Regions from separate parts of the Homo sapiens genome. Here all the other regions are linked to region 2. Evidence: promoter capture Hi-C in 16 types of primary human blood cells and fetal thymus (Javierre and others, 2016). All regions are on one chromosome and are shown on one strand. The core of a region is centred on a gene start or on the middle of the fragment in contact, and the rest is flanking DNA. Distances in the headings are between cores, read along the strand shown.

What was found. The method cuts DNA at HindIII sites, captures the fragments that hold promoters and counts their contacts. A CHiCAGO score of 5 or more calls a contact.
Region 1: a contact is called between a fragment that was not itself captured here and the fragment with the promoter of PVRIG in region 2, in 1 of 17 cell types (activated CD4 T cells). The highest score is 5.6, in activated CD4 T cells.
Region 3: a contact is called between the fragment with the promoter of AZGP1 here and the fragment with the promoter of PVRIG in region 2, in 9 of 17 cell types (neutrophils, total CD4 T cells, non-activated CD4 T cells and 6 more). The highest score is 17.8, in neutrophils.

Annotation. Positions count from the first base shown.
Region 1 is chr7:100,370,577-100,373,558 of GRCh38, forward strand. It overlaps PILRA (paired immunoglobin like type 2 receptor alpha), which reads left to right and starts at 2,911. Exons shown (of 7, transcript NM_013439.3): 1 at 2,911-2,982. RefSeq lists an enhancer at 1-579. The HindIII fragment of the contact is 1,363 bases long and covers 711-2,073 here.
Region 2 is chr7:100,218,239-100,221,418 of GRCh38, forward strand. It overlaps PVRIG (PVR related immunoglobulin domain containing), which reads left to right and starts at 1,711. Exons shown (of 5, transcript NM_001397246.1): 1 at 1,711-1,790; 2 at 1,876-2,226; 3 at 2,309-2,435; 4 at 2,522-2,582; 5 at 2,690-3,180. The coding sequence starts at 1,733. The coding sequence ends at 3,013. It also overlaps a transcript of STAG3 not described here and the pseudogene CASTOR3P. RefSeq lists enhancers at 1,601-1,730, 1,791-1,860 and a silencer at 2,781-2,830. The HindIII fragment of the contact is 24,869 bases long and covers 1-3,180 here.
Region 3 is chr7:99,974,555-99,977,905 of GRCh38, forward strand. AZGP1 (alpha-2-glycoprotein 1, zinc-binding) reads right to left here and starts at 1,477. Exons shown (of 4, transcript NM_001185.4): 1 at 1,391-1,477. The coding sequence starts at 1,466. The HindIII fragment of the contact is 13,516 bases long and covers 125-3,351 here.

The DNA of each region.
Region 1 (2,982 bases), core at 142-2,641, 150 kb after region 2:
TTGCATATGAAAGGCACACTCAGCCAGGAGCCGTGGCTCAAGCCTGTAATCCCAGCACTTTGGGAGGCCGAGGTGGGCAGATCACAAGGTCAGGAGATGGAGACCATCTTGGCCAACGTGGTGAAACCCCGTCTCTATTAAAAATACAAAAATTAGTTGGGCATGGTGGCACGCACTTGTAATCCCAGCAACTTGGGAGGCTGAGGCAGGAGAATCGCTTGAACCCAGGGGTGGAGGTTGCAGTGAGCCGAGACCGTGCCACTGCACTCCAGCCTGGCAGCAGAGTGAGACTGTTTCAGAAAAAAAAAGGGACACTCTCAGAGGGGTCATTTGCTAGCTCTAACAACTGGCTGGCTCTGGCAGGGGCAGTCCCTCTCTCTGCTCTTGGAGGTCCAAGATGCCAGAATATCAGCAATCCAGTGGGGCTTGGTGAGGTGGCTCACACCTGTCATCCCAGCACTGAGGGAGGCCGAGGCAGGAGGATTGCTTAAGCCCAGGAACTTGAGACCAGCCTAGACAACATAGTGAGACCCCATCTCTCAAAAAAAAAAAAAAATTAGCCGTGTGTGGTGGTGTGTGCCTGTGGTCTTCACTACTTGGGAGGCTGAGGTCAGCAAATTGCTTCAGCCCAGGAGTGATGGTGATCGCGTCCCTACACTCCAGTCTGTGGACACTCTAGTACCTTGAGGACAGTACAGCCTGATTACAGAAGCTTTACAGCAAGTCTTGAAGTCAGGTATTATAAATCTTCCACCTTCATTCTTCATTTGTAAAGGCCTTTTGGCTATTCTAGGTCCTTTGAATTACTGTGAGAATATTACAGTTGGCTTGTGAACTCCACAAAGCCTATGGGATGTCGATTGGGATCAGAGGAAAGCAGGAACGGTGGGTGCCAAGGAGAGGTGAGGGGCTGGGGGCAGGGACGGATGTGGCCAGTGAGGACAGTAGGATACTTGTTGGGGGAATGTGGGGACATCCAAGCAGTGGTTCTCATAATGCGGTGCAGGGTACTTACCCCCTCCCTGCCCCTGCTCCCCACACACGACTTCCCACGCCTCTCCCATGAGCACCTGCACTAAGGGGCTGCATTTAGGCTCTGCCCACATTGGAATCATGCCCTCCTCCAGGCCCTCCTCCTCCTCTCAGAAGCCCTGTCTGTGAGAGAGCCACAGCCCCAGGCTCAGTCCCAGGTTCTGTCACTGCTGTTGGGGGAGGGAGGATGAACAAATCCAGGAGACCTCACACCATCCCAGAGCAGAAATCCTGACACAGAAGGAATCTCCCATGGGGGTTCAGCTGGATCCAGGGCCTGAAAGTGACATAAACATGCATGTTGCATCTAAGGAGACTGCACGTGGCAGCATTGGGCAGCATGTGCCCTCCAGAGCTACCCAGAGGCTGTTGGCTATAAGTTCTATGTGGCCCCCACATTGGACAGCCTGGTAAGCAGGTGACCTTTCAGCCAGGTCCTCAGGTGGGGCGGGCCACCCTCTCGAGGCCCTGCCCAGACAGCCAGGGGGTCCCTTGTCCTCTCTGCAGCCCATCTTTCCAGCTGTGACCAGTTCAGCCCAAAGCCCCCGTCCCTCAGTTTCCCTGTGGGTTGAATGGAGATAATGTGTCACCTCAGAATGTTGTGAAGCAGAGAATGAGGTGTTTAGGGCCTGGCTCAGACGGAGGGGTTTCCTGAGCATGGGGAACCTGTTTCCTCAGGCCTGTAAAGGGAGGGAGGGCGGGCCGGCCTGGCTGGCCCTGGGAAGCACAGAGGAGCCTACTAGGACCAGGGAAGAGACTAAGAGAAGGGAGGCCCGTCCCTGCCTGCTTCTGTCTCAAGAAGGCTGATGTCACTTCCTCTGATGAAATCCTGTCTTCCCCCACGGCCCCTCAACTGATGCCACCTCACCCTGGAGAGGGTGGGCAGAGCCTCCTACGGAGGGAGCCCTGTGCACCACCAAAGCTCCCTGCTCCAGTGACCACCCCCGGGCAAAGGCCGGCAGATCCCCGTTAGAGATGGGCCCAGGACTGTGTGTGGGGTGGGTGTTGCTCTGAGCCTTCACTTTCTTCTGTGTCCAAGGAAGCTTCTGGATCAGCCAAGGGCTCAGGTGTGTGGAGGGAATGACCTGAGGGGCTGTATGAAGGGACAGCCTCCTGTCCTGCACTCAGAAGTTGAGGCCCAGAGATTCCACCCTTCAGCCAGGCCCAGACATCTGGGTTGAGGGGGCTCCAGTCCTGTACCCACTACTGCAAGTCACGTGGCCTGGGGCAGGGCTTCTCAGAGCCCTGTCCCCTCCTGTGTAGGGCGGGACGTCAGAGGGGAGCCTGCAGACCCAGTCTCATGTCTTGGGGGTCAAGGGGTGGCTTCCAGAAGGACCAGTCTCTGTGTAGGGGACCATTAGCCCCCTCACCCCTTGAGCAAGGTCGTGGTGCCTGCACCGAGAGAGGGCCTGGGGCAGGAAGAGGCCAGCTGGGTCGTGGTGGTGCCTGGGGACTGCATGGGAGCCCCTGCCAGGGAGGGAGAGGGACAGAGGACAAGCTGGGGGCTCTTCTGCTTGGGCTGGGGGCTGAGCACCTGTGACCTCCACCGGCTTCCTTCTCCTCCTCTCTGAGGACTGAATCTGGGGCGCAGAAGGACAGAGATTCAGGCCTGCCTTTCCTCTCCCTGAAAGAGCCTGCGCTGGCCCTGGGCAGAGAGAAGGATGAGAAGTGAGGCTGAGTGAGGTGGGGTCTGCAGGGATCCAGGTGGGAGGGGCCCAGCCAGCCAAGGTCAGGCCCAGCCCCCCAAGGTCAGGCCCAGCCCCTCGGCAGGAGGACGGGGACCGCGGCCTTTGGGCAGGGCTGACTTGGCACTGACCACAAGGGAGGCCCTTTTGCAATAGGGGAAAATAAGCCAGATGGATAAAGGAAGTGCTGGTCACCCTGGAGGTGCACTGGTTTGGGGAAGGCTCCTGGCCCCCACAGCCCTCTTCGGAGCCTGAGCCCGGCTCT
Region 2 (3,180 bases), core at 461-2,960:
GCCTGGTTTTTCCTAGGTTATAATTGTAGAACAAAGATTATTATAATATTGGAATAAAGAGTTATGCTATAAACTAATGATTAGTAATATATATAATCATAGCTATAATCTATTTCTAGTATAACTATTCTTATTCTATGTATTTTCTTTATTATACTGGAACAGCTTGTGCCCTCGGTCTCTTGCCTTGGCAGCTGGGTGGCTTGCCTCCCACATGGCACTGCTGGGCATTGTCTGTTAATATTGAATAATTGTTTTAAGATTATTTTCAATAAGGCTTTACCTTTTTTAACTTGCACTGTGGCCATGAGCTCTGCTGGAAGTGACTTGTTGGTGTTATCTCCTCAGTTATAAAGTGAAGGGATTTTTCTTTTTCAGATTACTGAGAGTCTTCCGTTACTAGGTAAGTCACCGCATCCTTATAACTCCAGGTGACACTGACTGGGGTTTATGGGATGAAAGAGGAGTGTGTGCTTGGATGATGGGGTGTGATAGTGAAGGGGTGAAAGGTTTCTTCTCACACATAGACATCGTGAGGTCTTCCTTGAGCTCTTTAGAGCCTTCCCTCGGGATAGGATGAAATACTGAGATCCTAGAAAGGATTCACAAAACGTGTCACTCATCAGCGCAGATTCACCGATTCACCCCTAGATGTGTGTGGGATTTGGATGGCAGAGAGAAACAGGCACTGAAGATTTTTGGTCAGGACAGGGCAGAGAAATAAGAAGAGTTGAAAATTCACCAAAGGATAGATAAACCCAGGGCGTTTAGAGAAAACCTGTAGTGTGCAAAGGAGCCCAGAATCCTGGGGCAACTTGGAGGGAAATATACTTAATTTGATTCACTAAGTTAGGCCCAGTGAAGGGATTGGGTGGCATAGGTAGAAGCCGAAAAATAAAGTATCTTGTATTGCTGGAGTAGCCTCTGTTTCTGAGGTCACATCCAAACTTAGCGAGGCAGCTTAACCTGGTGAGAGACATGGGTTCAACTCCTGGCTTCTGCACTGCTAGGGCAGAGGACTGCTGTTTGCTGACACAATCTTGGTGCGTTGGAAGTGAAAGGGAAGAGGCACTGGTGGCTGTGCTTTGGGCCCGAGCAGCCAGAAGCCAGTTGCCATCACCTATGACGAGGAGACAGCGCCTGGGGCAGAGCCCAGTATGGGGTGCGTTCAGGGTAGATCAGGAGGTATGAGTGGGTAGTGGGCGAGCCAGGCTGGGGGTTGTGGGGGAGGCCTGCATTGCAGGTGTAAGCGTGGGACCCACATCAGATTGGTAGTGGGTCATGCATGCTGGGCTGGCTCTCAGGTCCTCCCTGCTGGCTTCCCACTCCCAGGGGCTTTCTCCTCCGATTCCTTAGCTGGGTGAGGGGCGGGACAGAGCCCTTTCTTAGGGAAGCCCGGCACCCCTTGCTGTCCAGGGAAGGGGAGTCCTTCTAGCCCCTGACAGCTTCTCTGCCCCTCCCCTGGCCTCCCCAGGCCTAGCCAGGGCTGGGTTCTCACCCACCTGTGCCGCCCTGCCTTGTTACCTGGAAGCACAGCCTTGGGGACTGAGCAGGCCCTCACTGTCACTTTAAGAAGGGAATCAGCCACTTTGTGCTCACCACCTCTGGGGAAGGTGTGAGAGGAGAGAAGGAAGTGGCTGTTTGGCTGCTGACAACATGAAGACTTCCTGCGATGAGAACAGAGGCACAGGTGCCGGCCCTGCAGCCCCCAGAACCTGGACTGGAGGGGGCCATGGGGCACCGGACCCTGGTCCTGCCCTGGGTGCTGCTGACCTTGTGTGTCACTGCGGGTGAGTGCCGGCACCAGAGAGGGGCAGGGGCTGCAGGGAGGGTGATGTAGGACAACAGCCCACCGACCTTGCTGCTGTTCCACAGGGACCCCGGAGGTGTGGGTTCAAGTTCGGATGGAGGCCACCGAGCTCTCGTCCTTCACCATCCGTTGTGGGTTCCTGGGGTCTGGCTCCATCTCCCTGGTGACTGTGAGCTGGGGGGGCCCCAACGGTGCTGGGGGGACCACGCTGGCTGTGTTGCACCCAGAACGTGGCATCCGGCAATGGGCCCCTGCTCGCCAGGCCCGCTGGGAAACCCAGAGCAGCATCTCTCTCATCCTGGAAGGCTCTGGGGCCAGCAGCCCCTGCGCCAACACCACCTTCTGCTGCAAGTTTGCGTCCTTCCCTGAGGGCTCCTGGGAGGCCTGTGGGAGCCTCCCGCCCAGCTCAGACCCAGGTGGGGCCGGGGCGAGGGGTCCAGGAGGGCAGGGAGGGGCTCGGGAACTGGCCACCCATCTGATTCTTGTCTCCGTGCCCAGGGCTCTCTGCCCCGCCGACTCCTGCCCCCATTCTGCGGGCAGACCTGGCCGGGATCTTGGGGGTCTCAGGAGTCCTCCTCTTTGGCTGTGTCTACCTCCTTCATCTGCTGCGCCGACATAAGCACCGGTGAGACCTGGTCCCTGTCCACGTCCCCCTGACACTGGGATGGCCACATGCCCTGCAGAGCTCTGACCATCCTTGCTCTCTCCCAGCCCTGCCCCTAGGCTCCAGCCGTCCCGCACCAGCCCCCAGGCACCGAGAGCACGAGCATGGGTGAGGAGGGGACCTGCTTTGGGGATGAGGTGACAGGGGCAGGGGCAGGGGGGCCAGGGCTGGGCCCAAGCTGTGCAGACTCACTTGACCCTCCTTCCCCCGCGCAGGCACCAAGCCAGGCCTCCCAGGCTGCTCTTCACGTCCCTTATGCCACTATCAACACCAGCTGCCGCCCAGCTACTTTGGACACAGCTCACCCCCATGGGGGGCCGTCCTGGTGGGCGTCACTCCCCACCCACGCTGCACACCGGCCCCAGGGCCCTGCCGCCTGGGCCTCCACACCCATCCCTGCACGTGGCAGCTTTGTCTCTGTTGAGAATGGACTCTACGCTCAGGCAGGGGAGAGGCCTCCTCACACTGGTCCCGGCCTCACTCTTTTCCCTGACCCTCGGGGGCCCAGGGCCATGGAAGGACCCTTAGGAGTTCGATGAGAGAGACCATGAGGCCACTGGGCTTTCCCCCTCCCAGGCCTCCTGGGTGTCACCCCCTTACTTTAATTCTTGGGCCTCCAATAAGTGTCCCATAGGTGTCTGGCCAGGCCCACCTGCTGCGGATGTGGTCTCTGTGTGTGCGTGTGTGGGCACAGGTGTGAGTGTGT
Region 3 (3,351 bases), core at 227-2,726, 240 kb before region 2:
CCTGCCTGGGTGACAGAGTGAGACTCTGTCTCAAAAATAAATAAATAAATAAATAATCAAATACTTTTAAAAACTAAAATAACCAAAAAAGTATAATTGGATTGTCTGTAACACAAACGATAAAAGCTTGAAGGGATGGATACCTCATTTTTGATGATGTGATTATTTCACATTGCATGCCTGAATCAAAACCTCTCATGTACCCCATAAATATATACACATACTATGCACCCACAGTTTTTTTTTTAATTTACAAAAAAATCAGTAGACCTTGAGTAAAGTGGATTACTCTCCATAGTGGTGGGCTTCATCCAATCAGTTGAAGGCCTTAAGAGAAAAAGCCTCAGATGTCCCCTAAAGAGGAAAGAATTCTGCCTACAGTCTGCCCTTGGAATCAAGACTAAGACATCAACTCTTCCCTGGGTCTCCAGCCTGCTGGCCGGCTCTGAAGATTTAGGACTTGTTACTCCTCCCAATAGTGTGAGTCAATTTCTTAAAATAAATCTCTACTCTCTCTCTCTTTTGTATACATATATGTAAATCTCTTCCTATGTGTGTGTGTATCCATGTGTATACAGTGTATGTATGTATGTGTACGTACATATATATGTATATGTGTACCACCTATTAGTTCTGTTTCTCTGGAGAACCCTGAGTAATTCAGATTTTGGCACAGAATCAGATTAACATTCCAAAGTGATTGTTATATAACAAACATATAACACCTTTTCTGACAATTTGTAAATGTCATGAATTTTAAACTCACACAACTGAGAAGCCATTCGCTTCCATGTCTTTATCCTGCACATTCTCATGCCACAAACAGCCTCCTTCCCTTATCCTAGGAGTGACTCTTGATCTCCCGGAGCTCCCACTCTCTTCTCTTCCAGCCACTCGCCTTCCAGACCCACTGCAGTGGTGTCTGAGTGTGGGATTTGGGCACGGGTTTCCTTCTAGCACCATCCCTCCAGCCAACCTGCCTTCCCACTTTCCCCTTGGGGCTGCTCTCTCTTTCCCTCAGCGTCAGGCAGGTGTACCCAGCCATCGGAAGGAGGGAAGGAACAGGAGCAGAAGCAGCTCCAGGCATATGGTTCCTACTCCGTCCTGACTGTCTACCCCAAGCAGGTCGCTTGGTCTTTGGAGTCTTTGTTTTCACTGTAAACTAGGGGTTTTAGATTCAGATTCCTGAAGGTCTTATTTCGGGCCAGCGCAGAGGCTCCCTGAATGCTCCTGGAAGTGTGTGAGCTGAGGGAGTTGACAGCCTTGGGCACCCATTCCTGCCGTATGCCAGGGTATCCCAGCTGCATCCAGCCTGTCTCCCAGCCACATGTCCTGTTCCTCACCTCCTTCCAGTCCTCTCCAGCACCCATCCCTTGCTTTCCCCACTCACCATCTTGGTTCTCCTGGGGGACAGCAGGACCCAGAAGCAGCAGCAGAGACAGCAGGACAGGCACCATTCTTACCATTGTGTCTGCTTGGAGGGTTCTGGGCAGGAGGCACAGATATTATCCTGGGTCCTGGGGCCCTGCCCAGGGGAGGTGAATCTACAGGCCAATGGGAGTGCCAGGACGGGCTCCTCCCCTAATAGAGAAAAAAAAATGATACACAAGCTAGGCTGGGCAGAGGTTATGAAGAATGAATCTACACACAGGATATGCAAATTCAGAGCTGAGTCCAGAGTTGATCTCTGGACTGAGGCTTTGTGTGTGCCTGGGGTGGAAGGATGCCAGTGGGTAGGAGGTGCGTGTGATGGGTGGCAAGCGCCTGGGATGTGTCACCCTTCCAGTCTATTGTGACAACCCCTGGGCCAGTAGGGGCATTTGTGTGTTTTTGGACCACACTGTATCCCTGCCTTCCAGAAAAACTCTCAACATGTCCAAGACATGGACCTGGGTAGACCCCAGCTGGGGTGGGACCCTCACTCTCCCACATCCGATCCTGCCAGAGGCTGTGTCTGGAGGACAGTCACATTCCCATCTCTCCCTCCTTCCTTTCTGTGCCTGTGGAATCCCAGCCTTCCATGATGGAAGCAGAAATAGCCGCATCCTCCTTTTGCAGCCTCCCTGGCAACAGAACGAGCCTCCCAAAATGCTGGGATTAAAGGCGTGAGCCACCACGCCCAGCCAAGATAATTTTTAATGCATACAACAAGACTCGTTTTACACAGACGAAGCCAGTTATTTGAAAACCAGGTCTTTCCAGGCACGCTCAGTGTTGATGGGCTATTTGCAGAGAGACCCTCCGAATACAAAGCAACATGCTATTCTAAAGTGACTGGGGCCCGGGTGCGGTGACTCATGCTTGTAATCCCAGCACTTTGGGAGGCTGAGGTGGTTGGATCACCTCAGGTTGAGGTCAGGTACTCGAGACCAGCCTGGGCAACATGATGAAACCTCGTCTCTACTGAAAAAATACAAGAATTAGCTGCGCGTGGTGGCACATGCCTATAATCCCAGCACTCAGGAAGCTGAGGCAGGGGTTTCACCATGTTGGCCAAGCTGGTTTTGAACTCCTGACCTCGTGATCTGCCCGCCTCGGTCTCCCAAAGTGCTGGGTTTACTAGTGTGAGCAACTGTGCCCAGCCTCTCTTTTGGTTAAAGAAACCTACAAAGGGACCTTTTATAGTGACTTCAATTTTATGGAATAATTGTAATGCTCCTAAGGCCGTTGTGCTCCAAAGTCTAGCCGCAGGTATTGTTATTGATTGGGCTCCAAAAGGGCATTATTGGCAAGATTGCTCCAGCAAAAATACCTCATGCTCAGAGTTTAATTATTTGTTAGATTATGTAGAGGATGGATGGCAGTCATACAGGCTGAGACAATGGGTGTCCCCTTACCTATTTAAATGGATGGATGCAGGCATTACTCCTCCTAGACCAAAAATGATTCATCCCTTTGTTACCCCAGAACATCCTCAACTATGAAAATTAGCTGCAGCTATGACAGGAATAAGGATATGGAACACTACCTATCAACTCCTTCACACTAATACCAAAACACCCACATTCAACATCACCCTCATATCTGAACGGGTGATACCCATCAGGAGCTATGTCAAACCCCCTTACATGCTGTTGGTTGGAAATATAATTATCATTCCCAATACACAAACTATAGAATGTGATAACTGTAAGCTGTTCACGTGCATTGATGCTACTTTTAATCCCACTACAAGTACTCTCTTGGTAAGGGCTAGGGAGGGGGTATGGATACCAGTTTCTTTACATCGTCCATGGGAGTCTTCCCCCTCTATTCACATAGTCAATGAAGTTCTTAAAGGTATCCGCAAAAGAACAAAGAGATTTATTTTTACTCTTATTGCCATCATTGCAGGACTAATTGCGGTTACTG